Regions from separate parts of the Homo sapiens genome. Here region 2 is linked to region 1. The links are contacts of gene promoters, found by promoter capture Hi-C in human tissues and cell types (Jung and others, 2019). All regions are on one chromosome and are shown on one strand. The core of a region is centred on a gene start or on the middle of the fragment in contact, and the rest is flanking DNA. Distances in the headings are between cores, read along the strand shown. Region 1 holds the start of LSMEM1 (leucine rich single-pass membrane protein 1). Region 2 has its middle 210 kb from the start of PPP1R3A.

What was found. Contacts are between HindIII fragments. The study calls those that stand out against the background at their distance.
Region 2: a contact is called between a fragment that was not itself captured here and the fragment with the promoter of LSMEM1 in region 1, in 1 of the 25 tissues and cell types used here (dorsolateral prefrontal cortex).

The regions. Positions count from the first base shown.
Region 1 is chr7:112,476,303-112,483,542 of GRCh38, forward strand. It overlaps LSMEM1 (leucine rich single-pass membrane protein 1), which reads left to right and starts at 4,689. Exons shown (of 4, transcript NM_182597.3): 1 at 4,689-5,044. It overlaps IFRD1 (interferon related developmental regulator 1), which reads left to right. Exons shown (of 12, transcript NM_001550.4): 12 at 1-901. The HindIII fragment of the contact is 9,789 bases long and covers 1-7,240 here.
Region 2 is chr7:113,705,722-113,713,186 of GRCh38, forward strand. No RefSeq gene overlaps it. Among named protein-coding and RNA genes, the nearest start is that of PPP1R3A, 210 kb to the right of the region's middle. The HindIII fragment of the contact is 3,767 bases long and covers 4,230-7,465 here.

The sequences.
Region 1 (7,240 bases), core at 3,439-5,938:
ATTAAAGTAGATGAAAAGAATGTAGCAATACATAATTGGGATTAAGGTTTCTGACTTTCAAGAATATTTCTGCTTGGCAACATGCAGTGTGGCTCATGCCTATAATCAGCACTCTGGGGAGGCTGAGGCGGGAGGATGGCATGAGCCCAGTTTGAGACCAGCCTGGGCAACATAGCGAGACCCTGTCTCTACCAGAAATTTAAAAAATGAGTGTGGTGGTGTGTGCTTCTACTCTTTATCTACTTGGGTGCTGAGGCAAGAGGGTAACTTGAGCCCAGGAGGTCAAAGCTGCAGTGAGCCGTGATTGTGCCACTCCAGCCTGGGTGACGAGTGAGACCTTGTCTCAAAAGCAAAACAAAAAAGAATATTGCTGCTTGTTTGCCCATGAGGTATATTTCTTTCATTTTATGAAAAGCATTTTGACAACACGTTAACATTTAATAAACTTTAGATTAAAATATATAGTGCAAGCAACATGCCATTTCAAATCCGTAGACTTGTTTCTTTGATACTCTTGCTGTAGGTCGCCGTGAGGGGTAGGGAAGCATATATACTGTAGGGAGAAGTATCAAAATCATTTAAGGTCTTTTTTCCAAACTAGTGTTCCCCTCCCACATCCCAACAACTCTTGGAAGTCTGGTGCTCCCTCTAGGTGAAAATCATTTGCTGGCTTATGGAGTCACTGTTGCTGAGTCCCATCCCCCAGTTACAGTGCAGTGGAAAACAGGTTTAGAATCTAGAACTTGTTTGTATGTTGTCACTTGGTTATGTTCCAAGTAGGTTAGAACCATGGAAAAGAGATTGCAAATGGTAGTTTCTTCTAGATATTCAAATGCATATATGTATGTACATGTAATTATAAATAAATAATGAATTTTTATTAAAGTGTTGTATGAACATAGGTTTTTGTTTGTTTTTGAGACAGTCTCCCTCTGTTGCGCAGGCTGGGGTGCAGTAGCGCAATCTTGGCTCACTGTAACCTCTGCCTTCAGGGTCCAAACGATTCTCCTGCCTCAGCCTCCTGAGTTGCTGGGATTACAGGTGTGTTCCACCACACCTGGCTAATTTATATTTTTAGTTGTGATGGGGTTTCACCATGTTGGCCAGGCTGGTCTTGAACTCCTGACCTCAAGTGATCTGCCCGCCTTGGTCTCCCAAAGTGTTGGGATTACAGGCATGAGCCACCGTGCCCAGCCTGAACATAGTTTAATGGTACTTCAAGGCTAATAAGGAAAGCCCCTTGCTCCATCCTTTCCTATTCCTCAGTCCCATCCCAAGAGACATTCAGCCTTCAGTTTTTTCTAGCTCGGTTCTTTCAGCCTTCAGTTTTTGGTTTTAGGTTTCTAAATAATATGATTATACAGCCATTTATTTTTTAGGTGTTTGTCAACTTACTATTAAGACAGGTGAAAATTTCTTTTATTGTTTCACATCCTTCTAATATTATTTTGGTTAGATCATGTACCTGTTTGCATAGCTGTGATCATACTTGTATGTTCACTCGTGAATTAATTTAATGTGCTTACATTTTCATTCTCATACAACGTTTTGTCTTGGAGTTAATGCTCTTTTTTTTGGCTTTTTATGCACATCATTGATTCTTCCCAAACAGTCCCAAATAAATTTGTCACAACTTTTCTTGATTCTGTACTTGTTTCAATCTAGACTAGTTTCTCTCATCCAATTGTATAGCAGTTTTCCTGAGACAGCACTATCGTGAGGATTTGTTTTTCTTTCTCTTGAATTGTATCCCTCATTTTCTGGATCCCATGTCTTAATTTACTTCTTTGTTAACATGGAGCACTTCTTTCAGTAGTTTCTTGGGAATGAGTGCGTGAGAGATCAGTCAGTTATTTAGTGACTTCATATTTCTGAAAGATAGTTTGCATGGAAATTCTAGGTGGAAAATCAAATTTGGAATTTTTGAAAATTTTGACAAGTGTATTCAAATTCAGAATTTTGAAGGCATTGCTCTATTCTAATTTGCAAAATCTTGAGATATCTGATGCAGTTTTTATTTTTATTTCTTTGTTTTCTCAGCATCTCTGTTTCTAGTGTTCTAAAATTGCATGATACTGTGCTTTGGTGGGATTGGCAACCTGGAAAATATTAAGTTCTTCATCTCTTCTCTTCCTCCTCATTTTCTTTGTTCTGGAACTCTATGACATAGTGGAGCTCCCAAATTGAATCTTGGGCCTTATTTATTTTTTTTTTTTCTGTCTGGGATATTTCTCTAAGACAATTTTCCAATTTGTATTGCATTTTGTTTTTGGCTAGCATTAAATTACTTGCCTCTGTGTAGCTCCATGCCACACTCTTGCCTCTAAATCCTAGGCCTGCCTGAATTCTGCAGGATCAGTCCTACTGTCACTCATCTGTGATAGCCCTGCTAAGGCAGATACCACTCTTCTTACCATGTTCAATACATTTATTGAGCTCTTCAGTATTGTTTCTTCCTATTTTAATTTTTCTGGTTTTGTAATTTGTACTCCTGCTTTTTTACTGGGCTTTTGGGAGGAAGAAGGTATAGAGTGTTAATCTGCATGTTGAATTTATATGCAGGTGACTTTATTCATGAAACTTGTGGTAACTGCTAGACAAGGGTGGCTGGGTGTTCAATGTGTAAGAATGCTTGTGTTTTCTTGAAAGTAGAAAAATGTTGTGTTATAGACTAGTTGTTCATTGCTTGATTCTTGATTAATTTTGCCCGCTTTCATTATTTTGAGGCTCAAGCATTTTGAAGTATTCATTGTCTGTGACTCCTCTTTGATGGGTACTAAATTTCCTGGGAGTGAATTTAGATACCCTGAGATGTAATATATGAAAGAAAAAGCAAATACTTGAGAATGTCCCTAGATTAGACACTTCATGTGAGAATATCTCTTTTTGTGACCCAAAACTCTTTTTTTTTCTTTTGAGATGAAGTTTCGTTTTTGTTGCCCAGGCTGGAGTCCAATGGTATAATCTGCCTCAGCCTCCTGAGTTGCTGGGATTACATGCATGTGCCACCACACCCGGCTAATTTTGTATTTTTAGTAGAGATGGGGTTTCTCCTTGTTGGTCAGGCTGGTCTCGAACTTCCGACCTCAGTTAATCTGCCTGTCTCGGCCTCCCAAAGTGCTGGGAATACAGGCATGAGCCACCGCACTCGGCCCCAAAACTCTTCTTAAAGGTGGTCTTGCAGGTATGTTATAGTTAAAATGAAGTAGGTTGTCTTGCTTTGTTCTTAAGTGGCTTTCCAGAAGTCTAACTGGTCTAAAGGCAGTCTTATCCCCCTCACTGGTGTATAGTTCAATTCAGACTTGAATGCGAGGTATGGGTTTACATCTCATCTCTGCCACTTATAATCAGTGTATCCCTCAACAATTAAATTCCTTAGTCTCCATTTCCTTCCTCCTTCAGGGGAAGTTAATATTCCACAAAGTTAGAAGTTACAGGAGAGGAAAAGTAGTAAACGCCCCAAAATGAGGCAGTTACTTCTATTATATCTTCAAAGGATACATGGCTCAAGGCAGATCAGGTAGTTGGGAGATTTCTTAAAAACAGCATAATAGCTAACATGAACATTTTCATTATTCAGAGAAATTTGACATAGCTTTTTAACGTATGTTTCTGAGAAAAGTTACTAGTTATATTGTCTTCCTCCAAGAATTAGTCTTTGGGTACAGATGAGGCTTGAAAAAATGACATTCCCTCTTAGACTAGGTAGTGTGAAGGGAAAAAAAAAATGACATTCCTCTTCCCCCAAAGCAGAGTGAGGTCCGTATGGGATATAGGTGTAAAGAAAATTTTGGGCCGGGCATGGTGGCTCAAGTTTGTAATCCCAGCACTTTGGGAGGCCGAGGTGGGTGGATCACTTGAGGTCAGGAGTTCAAGACTAGCCTGACCAACATGGTGAAACCCCATCTCTACTAAAAATAAAGAAATTAGCCAGCTATGGTGGCACATACCTGTAATCCCAGCTACTTGGGAGGCTGAGGCAGGAGAATCTGGAAGCAGGAAGGTCTCAGTAGGCTGGGATCATGCCACTGCGCTCCAGCCTGGGCAACACAGCAAGACTCTGTCTCAAAGAAAATTTTGTGGAACACCTATTTTCTCACTGACATGAAAAATGTTTCAAAGATGAATAATGTCCATCAAGCTATGGCAATGGAAGTGAGGATGATAAAGGATTGCACAGTTGTTCACAACCTCACTGTTAGTATCCTGCTGAGATAGTTGGTCTCCTCATCACTGTAGCATCTTTTATGTACAGCAGAGGGCAGAAGCTCCTTGGCATGTATGTGAGGGAACCACATATATGGAAGGCTGTTATTCCTGAGAAAGGAGGATGTGCAGACACTCACAGAACAAAGCCTTTGTAAAGGAAAGGCGGCCGATGAGATGGAGTGCTTCCTTCACCTGTGGTGGGTCTGTATCCATGAAATCGCCCACTCACAATCGCTTTTTGTAGCTACTGGAAGCACTAGGCGTCTGACCTGCCATCATCCTTGTTATGATGTCATAATCATATTCTGTCCGTGTTTATTGCAGTTCTCTGGTTTGTCTGGAGTGTTTGCAAGTCAGTCATCATAGTGGCAGCTTCCGCCTGCTACAGGATATTTATATATGGAAGCATACCATGGCAGGAGTGCTGGAAAGGTGGTGTCAGCTAACAGTTGCTTCAGCCAGATAAGGACGGTAACTTCAGTCCAATAAAAACCTCATCAGTTACCAACTAAATCAGGGCATGGTGTTTTTTTGTTGTTTTCTTTTTAAAGCATAGTTTTAGTAATATATTTACTAAAAACCTTAGACATTATGAAAAAAGTCAGGATTTGGAATCTTACACTGCTTGGCTAAATTGACACAATATAGACCAACAGTTTCATCCTGGGGCTTATGGGTCTCATAGGAGCACCCGTATGCTGAAGAAAGGCAAAGAGAGAACTACAGAATTTGTAGAAAAGTTTTGTTGTAGTTGCTTCTGAACAATTAGTTTTTGTTTGTTTGTTTTGTTTTGTTTTGTTTTTCTGGTAACCTAGCAGTCAAAGCTCACATTTTTGTAAGTAATTTGCATGCTATTACTCTACTGAGACTGAATTATGATTCTCGAGTCTGGGAAGTTTTTGTTGCATGTGCTCTGTGTTTTTCATTTTTGATAGAAATGATTTAGACTTGATTTTAAAAATTACTTCCTGAATGTGAAGAGGCATTGACTGGGAAATGAAATTAAAGAACAAATTACCATGACTCATTCAATAACACTGCTTATTAGCTTTGAATTATGCCCTATTATAACAATTCTGATTTTGTGGCAAGCAATACTGGTGTGAGTTATTTCTGTGGTTTGATACCAAGCACCTGCCTGGTTAAAAAATAAAGCACCAGGCAATTTTTCATAGACAATTATCTTTATTTGTTGGAATATTTATTTGTAAATAGTCAAAGAATTCTTAAATGACAAAAAATCAACTGTTAGCAGTGATCTAAACCAGAGGAAAATGAAATTACTTACATGTTTCCAGTCAAGGTATAAGAAAGGGTTCTGTTAAAGGGATGCTGCTTTAGCCAATCTTGGTGAATAAGCAAATTTGCACACTGGAGTTGAAAGGAGGGTCAAGTTAGTGTGATGAAGAATTGCTAGTAACACTGGCTTCTCCAGCCTTGCTGGTTGTTCCTAGATGCCCTCATTTGGAGATGCCAAAGATAGCAACTACTGGGTGTCAAACAGCCGTGGGGCCTGGTTTTAAGGCCATGTGATCTTGTATCCCTTTACTAGCAGCCTCATGAGTCATTTGCAAGTCATTTGCAGGCTCTTGGAGCCCTGGAACAGCACCCAACTCAGTTTTCTCTGCTAGTTCTTTATTTTTCCATTTGCGTGTTGCAGCTCATTAAAAAAATATTGGAATAGCATATATTTACATTGTGACTTCACTCTAAAGAAGACATTTTCTTTCAAAGCACGTCATGGCTCACTAGGTTGTTGTCTTAGTTTTTTTTGGAGTCACCTTTTGAGTAGATAGCAAGACCAGTAATATGGAGATTTTATTAGCTGTACTCTTAAAGTCAGTTTTTGTGGCCATGATTTTCTAGCTAGGTCTCTATTTTGTAAACATTGATTAAGCCTCAGTATGAAATTGAAGCAACAGCAGATACATTCCTGAAGGGGAAGCTAAGGCTCAAGGCTATTAAGTCAGAGATCCAAAAATGAACCATGCTTCAGTTACCACACCTAAAATAGAAGCTGTGTGCAGAACAGTGGTCCTGTGATGTGACACATAAAACTTTTTTTCCTGGTCACATATTACTGTTTGGTCAAATATTAGTATAAATGGATGATAAAATATGAAACACATCTAAAAGAATTGTTTTAAAATCTGTGACTATGCATGAGTGAATATTTTGGGGCCTTGGTTTTAACTGCAAAAGGATAAGATTTGACTGACCTCTAAGGCCCTTTTACTCTATTTGCTGCTGCTTTTTAATTTTTTTTAATTGTCATATCAAGTCATTTCCTTAGGAATGCTCTATGAAGTATATTTGGAATTCAGTAATGTCAATAAAGTGCTATGGTAGTATCTTATCTGAAAACTCAGGGAATTGTTTGTTCTTGTTAATTAAAATTTCAAGATAAGTGAAACACACTTTTTTAGTTTTAACCCTAAAAAAAATTTTTAGTCCATGACTTTTTGAGCTCACTTTCTTAGCTAGGGTTCTGGTAGCACATTTTTCACAAGTACCAGTAGTTTTAGGTATTACTGGGAAATTGTTTTTTTAATATTTTAGACTAAGTTTAAATTGCTCAGTAAGTGTCTGATACTTTTTTTCCCCACATCTTCTTTAGGTGTATACTTTTTTTTTTTTTTTATGAATTTGGTTTCTCCCAACTCTATATTGCTCTTCATTCTGTAGATGAGTTTTAAAGGAAATTTTTGCAACAACAGAAAGTAAACAGTGTGTTGTCAAATACACACAGGCACCATATTTATCGCATTGACTTTACTAGAGTCCAGATAGACATCACATGAGGATTTTTATCCTCAATCTTATTTCTGTTCATGTACTTATTATTAACTGCCTCCAATTCTTTTGAAAATGGTGAGATTTAAATCCTAAATAAACATTTCAGGTGTTCCATCTTAACATAAGTCACCAACTTCTAAACCTGGCACTGGGCATTTGAAGAATAGGATTCGTCCCTACTCTAAGGAGTTTTCAGTCTATCGGGAAATCAAAGATGTAAGCAAATAGATGCAAT
Region 2 (7,465 bases), core at 4,863-7,362, 1.2 Mb after region 1:
TATTAAAAAGCAATCAATATTATATTTCATTGACTTGCAAATACATCTAAAGCCATTTGTATGGAATCACAGAATTTAGATTTGGAAGAGATCTTAGCAGCTCTATCACTGAATCGCTTGTTTTATACCTAAATACCTGTTCTTCTTTCCCAAATAAACTTAGTCTCTGCTAGAATAACACTAAGATGGAAGGTCCTCCCTTCCTGTGGGAACTTGTTCCTTCATTCAAAGGACTCTTTCAAATGGTCAGATGGTGCTTCCTCAAATCTAAGCCAAATCTACCTCCCCATATCTTCCCCTATGTTATATATATTTGCAGCCCCCAAGGCCAATCCCTGAGCAAGATCAATATAGCATCCAAGTGTACACCTTCTGGAATGAAAATAGCTATCGGATTCACAATGTCTTGTTTTCCTCAGTCTATAAATCCCTCATTATTTTTCAATTGTTTGTCATATGCCCAAGTTCTTACACAGGTCTTGCACTGCAGGCTCCTCATTTCCTCTCTGACCTCCTGCCTTCCTACCCTTCCATTCACCCACTCTGACCGAACCACACTGGCCCCCTTGTTCATCATGGAATACACTGGGCATGCTCCTGATTTTACCTTGGCCATGCCCTCTGACTAGAATACTCTTACCCCAGATATTTACACTGTTCCCACCCTTACCTTCTTGACTCTTTGCTCAAATGTCCCTTTTCAATGAATCCCATTTTGGCCTCCCTGTGGTAAATGATAATCTTCCCCTACTCACTCTGAATGCCCTGGCCTTCCTACTCTATCTGTTTCCATAGCTCTTATTGCTTACTAGCATCTATAGAATTATAGGGCAACTATATAATTAACTTATTTGAGTTAACCTATCACTGTATCCCATCATCAAATATAAGCTCACAAGGGCAGGGAATTTTGTCTATTTATCCACGGATGTGTCAAAGGTGCCTACATAGTGCCTGGCCATGATATACTTATTATCCATCATATTTTTACATATTTAATAAATATATGTGGGAAGAAAGAACAGCTATTTTTAGACTAGTTAAGAGTGTAGGCTTGGGGCATCCAGATGCCTACATTTAAATCCTGCCTCCATTACTTATGAGCTAGTGACATCGAGCAAATTATTTGAACTTTGATTTTCAATTTGCACTTCTCTAAAGTTTACATATTTTTAAAAGTATTATTATTTTTCTTTTCACAATGCTGGATATTTTTCTTTGGAATTCTTCCTGGTAGACAAGCTGCAGAGTATTGATCCACATATGCCAGTAATATGCCGCCCACCCCACACCCCACACAGTGATTTTACAGAATGCTTGTTCTGTGAGATACTACTAGATGTGGCACCCAGAGAAAGTCATGTGGTCAAACACAAATGCTGGAAGGAACCAAGTCAAATGACTTTTTGTTTTTTAACCCTGCAGGACTTCTCAAAACTTTTAATATGTTAATGTGCAATATAATCATCCTCAAGGTGGAGAATATAACACACAGTGTTTTCTAAAAATAATCTTAGAAATCTATTTTTCTGCTCATGGAGCATATCAGAGGAGTAGTGCCCTGAGAAATGTACTTTGGAAACTTCCTTCACCACCACCAAGGATAATCATGGGCAGGAGAGACATGGAAAGCTATGGCTGAGCACCATCAGCTTTTCTGCTCATCCAGTCTTTGCTCGTTTCCCAATTCTAATGTGATATGTGTCAAAATCTTTGTTCTTGTTCCATTTAAATTTAGCTGTAAAAATTCTCAAGATCTCAGTTGCTATGGCTAGTGTCCTATACTTTACTTTCAGAGTTTCTTTATACTAACTTTCTTTCTGTTCTGTGTGCTCTGATTGCCCAGGATTTCACACATTTATAATACTGCAATGTTCAGTCTTGCTGGCATGAATCTTATTTCAAACATCAGTCAGCTGCTGCATTTACCTTTGGTGACTCATGACATTCTCTTTCTCATCCCCTTCCCTGCCTCCCTGCATTCATTCTAACACTGGCACCCTAATCACAAAGCACCCCATCACCTCTGGACCACTCAGTGGGCACCTGAAGTGTAAACCTCTGAGGTCTTTTCAGTCACCTCTAGAGAAGGGAAGGAGTGAAGTTACAGCCTGCATAGTCTGTAAGAAAAGTCAGAACAGGCCAGGCACGGTGCCTCATGCTTACAATCCCAGCACTTTGGGAGGCTGAGGCAGGCAGATCACTTGCAGTCAGGAGTTCAAGACCAGCCTGGCCAACATGGTGAAATCATGTCTCTACTAAAACACAAAAATTAGCTGGGCATGGTGGTGAGTGCCTGTAGTCCAGCTACTCGGGAGGCTGAGGCAGGAGGAGAATCACTTGAACCTAGGAGGCGGAGGTTGCTGCGAGCCGAGATCGCCCCGCTGCACTCCAGCCTGGGTGACGGAGGCAAGACTCCATCTCAAAAAAAAAAAAAAAAAAAAAAAAAAAAGTCAGACCTGCAACTGAGTAGGAGCCAAAGAGAATAGGCTGTGGCTACACAATGCTCCCAAAGGCTCTAATCAAGGAAGCCTAAGAGGGCAGGAAGAAGCTGATGTCCACCAACTGCACTCTGCAGATATGCAGCTGGGATACACGGCAGGTACAGGAAACTGAAGTGTCTGAACATGGCCAGGCTGGTACTAGCAAAGGAAATTGTTCTAGTGTTCATAAGCTTTAGTATTTAAAATGAGTTAAATGTCAATGACTTTTAATTTTATATAACTTCTGACCATTGTCTACAATAAGATACTTGTATTAATATGAATCAAACGCTGAAAGACTCATTTTGCTGCAATATTGCATTCATTAATATAGATTTTAACTATCTCTTCTCTGAAATCATTGTCATTGTGTTTTCTGCTCATTGAACATCCCCATCCTTATATCATATCCCCAGGGTTGCCAGAGTTAGCAAATAAAAATACAGGATACCCAGTTAAATTTAAATTTCTGATAACCAATGAATAGACTTTAGTTGCAAGGGACATATTTAATTATATAAATTACCTTGAATTTAAGATAAGTAAAACATAATTTTTAGTATAAAAGTATGTCCCACGCAACTAAAGTATATTCTTGATTTTATCTGGCAACTTTACACACCTCCCAATTTTGACTACTGACTTTATCTGGGACCTTCAAATAGCAAACTGTGGCCACAAAAGTGGACTTTCTCAAACCCCAGTAAGCCTATCTCCTTTGGAACCCCCTATCTCCCACTAATCCAGACCATCAGCATCTATGTCTTAAGGTATGCCAGCCAGTACACTTTTGATAGTGTTTGCACTTGGAAACAAATACTATACTCTACTTGAGATGTGACCTGAGCCAAACATAATAGGACTAACACCTTCCTCATTGCAGACACTATTTCTGTTAAGGGGCCTAAAGGTAATGTCAGCCTATTGGTCAGCTTCATCACACAGGTAGCTAACATTGATGTTCACCTAATTAATATTCTTAAGTCTTTTTTCATACGTTCAGCTGAATGATATTTTATCCTAGTTTTCTTCTCAAAACTTACTTAATTCTGGCTTTAAATGTCTTAACTCTATTTCAAAAGCCCATAGCAACAATTTTTACTTGTCCTTTTTTTTAAAGTAGTTATTTAATCACAGGTTTAATAGGTATATACAAGATCAAACCTGTTGGAATGAATATATGATAGAGGAGTTGGATCAAATTTGTATAATCATGATAATCCATTTGGGAAGTGTATTTGTACTTTTAATTTCTGAACTTCTAAGAGAATACGTGAATAGCCCCATTGGCATTGCTAGTTATCCCCTTCATTATTTCGAATCAGGCTTTTTTGAGATTGTTTTGTCAGAATTTCATGTTATCTCTGAATTTTTTTCTCAGAATTTCAAAAATGTAATTCTTTAATGTATATGTCAATCTGTGCCCATGTTTTAGGTACTTTACACATTATCTCTTTGGATTCTCACATAACCATGGGAGGCAAGTTACACTTTTTCTAATTCACAGGTGAAGGAACAGAGGTTCAATGAAATGAAGTGACTTGTCCAGGTCAAGACATGCAGCAAAAGTCAAAGTGCTAGAAATGGAAGAGGCAAAGACAGACATTTGCAGACTAGATGATTGGATGAAATCCTAGCATCTGAAACAGCAGTGGGGGCACACCTCTGGAGAAAAAGGAAAGCCCTGGGGCCTTCCAAGGGACCACAAGGACAAAATGTTGATCTCACAGCAGCAGCTGCCTAACTGCCCAATGAACTCATCTTCAGGCAGACTTTGAATAGGTCTTTGCCTCTAGGAGATAAAATAGAAGATTATACAGGCCAAGTACGAATGAGACTAACCTGGGATGTGGTTGCCAAATATCTGGAATACGTAAAACACAAAAGAGTTTTTATAAAACAGTAAATAAAACAAATTTTAAAAGGAAATATAAATTTCTTCCGATGTCTGAGAAAGTTTAATTTGTTTATATGCTGTCTCAAATGGTATTATAGAATTGTAGCATTGGAAAAGGATCTTAGAAATCACTATATTGGCATCATTGTTAATAGTTTATCTCTAAGTAGATAATAATTAATTTTAATTCATGACAGAGTCTACCCCCCATTATCAACAATTACCTTTCTATCTATACAGTGTCTCTCTCTCTCTCTCTCTATCCATCTTCCATTATCCACAATTACCTTTCTATCTATCTATTTATTCAGTAATTTTCCTTCTTAAGGCTACTTGACAGGTCTGCGACGTTTGCTCTTTGCAAAAAGGCAACATGCCATCTAGTGGTCATAAACTGAATTGCAACCAGGAGTCCCTCAGAAAGCATGCACTTACTTAAGGTGAATGGAACTTGTAGGATTTGCATAATAGCTTACTGGGTCAACTAGGCACTAATCCAAATGTCTCAGACACATAGAATATCTGTCATTTAGTCAAAATCCTCTATGTGGCCTTTTCCTTTTTATTTTTTAGTTACGCCTTTTTTTAAATCAGTTTGGTTTTCCAAACCAGAGGGTAAGCCCTGGGCTGACAAAGTATCCAAATGCATCACGCTGTCCTAGAATAACTATCTACCCAAGTACTAATATTAAAATATTTAGTAACAGAATGACATTCCCTAAGATACTGTCCAGACAGCTTCCTGAGAATCTGTCATAGTCTCCAGAAGTTGGTGGCTTGATAAGTTCTGTTAGTAGTTCTCTTCCAGTGAATATAAATTTAGTTACTTAAGATGACTCAAGGGGCTAGTCATAAGGTGATTATCATCTGCCTTAAAGTTGACTTTATTTGAAATTAACATAGCAACACTAGTTTCCTTTTCTTTAGTATTTTTCAGTGTATGTTTCATCATCACTTTACTTTCAGCCTTTCTGTGTTTTAATGCTTAGATGCTGTCAGGAAACAAAGCTAGAACAAAAATAAATTTAATCTTAAAATCTATATTTTATTAATTCGGTTACATTTTTGTGATTATTAGCATGTATTTGGACATCTGTCATCTTTTTTTTACGATTTTACATCCTTTCTTGCTTAACTTTCTGCTTGTTTTGTAATTTCCCTTTTATTCTTCTACTAGCTTAGAAATTATGTATTTTATTTTCATTTTCTTTAGCAGTTGTCCTTTTATTTTTAACATCCATTCTTGACATAACAAAGTAGAACATTCAATAATATCTCTGTCCTTTCAAAAACATTAGAACAATTTATTTTTTAACATACTCCCCTCTTTAAGGGTAGCTGTCCAGTATTTTAGATACTACTTGCTTTGGAAGTCCTCAAAACCAGATACTTTTTGCAATCAAAGCTTACTGAGTTTTATTAAAATGTTTAAAATTTCTTTAGGGAAAATCACTTTGTGCATCATCATTTTTTTTCATCAGAATCCTCTTTTGTAGATACTTAAATGTATCAGTTAATTTTTCTTTCAGTAAAATCCACAAACTGAAAAGCTCTCAGATATTGTCTGAAAAATATGCCTTTATTTTGCCTTTATTCTTCATCAATCATTTAGCTGGGTATAAAAGTCCATTTGTTCAATCATTTCTCCTGAGTCCTTTGAAAGTATTTTTCCACTACCTGTGGTAGCTCTTGATGGTAAAAAACAGTTTTTATTCTGCTTACCTTTCCTTAGTAGATGATGTGTCTTTTCTTTTGAAACCTTTAAATGTTTTCTTTTTATTTTTATGTTCTGCAGTTTCATAATAACCCACTCATTGTGGAATTAATTGCATTTTCTTGCTCTGAATTTGTGTGCCACTTAAATCAAAAATTTTATTTTTTTCCCTTACATTTGGACAGACTTTCAGGCAATATTTCTGTAAATATTGCTTCACTGCTAGTCTCTACCTCTCCTTCTGGAACACCTTCCAAATAAACATGAGACTTTCTCACTCTATCTTTGGCATCTCTTAATATGCACTCATTGTGATGGTTAATTTTATGTGACAACTTGGCTATGCTAAAGTGCCCAGTTGTATTGGTCAACAACAAGTTTAGATTTTGAAGTATTTTTTAAAGATATGATTAGTATTTAAATCAGTAGACTTTGAATAAAGCAGATTATCTTTCACAATATCATGGGCCTCACTTAATCAGTTAAAGGCCTTAAGAGAAGAGATTAAGATCTTCAGAGAGGGAAGAAATTCTGCCTCTAGACTACCTTCCAACTTAAGACTGCAACATGACTCTTCCCTGGGTCTCTAGCCTGCTGGCCTGCCCAGAAGATTTGAGACTGTCAGCTTCCACAATAGCATAAGCCAATTCCTTAAAATAAATCTGTTTCCTTCCCTCTTCTCTCTGTATCTTTCTGTCTCTCCCTCACATGTTTGGACTTATTTCTATCACTTTGTTTTGTTTACTATTTTCCCTCCTTTCTTTGCTTAATTATCTGCATATCTATCTATCTATCTGCATATACACACACAGAGGCATATTTATAGATATATCTATATCTATATAGCTAGATATAGATAGAGGCATAAATCTATCTGTATCTATATATACTATATATCTATATATATACTATATATCTATATATCTATATATACTATATATCTATATATCTATATATATACTATATATCTATATATCTATACTATATATCTATATATATACTATATATCTATATATCTATACTATATATCTATATATATACTATATATCTATATATCTATACTATATATCTATATATATATATATACTATATCTATCTATCGAGAGAGAGAGAGAGAGAGATCATATTGCTTCTGTTTCTCTGGAGGATCCTGGCTAATAAAATCATATTTTCAATTCCATCTCTCTATGCTGCCTTTGACATATACTGAGTGATTTCTTCATCTTCAACATCTTGCTTACTAATACCATTTCAGCAGTTCCTAATCTGTTTAACTCTTCCATTAAATTATTTTTTTCTTTAATTAACATTTACATTTTGTTTGGTCTTTTTTTCTAGTTTCCCTGTGTGTGACCATAGCATTCTATCATA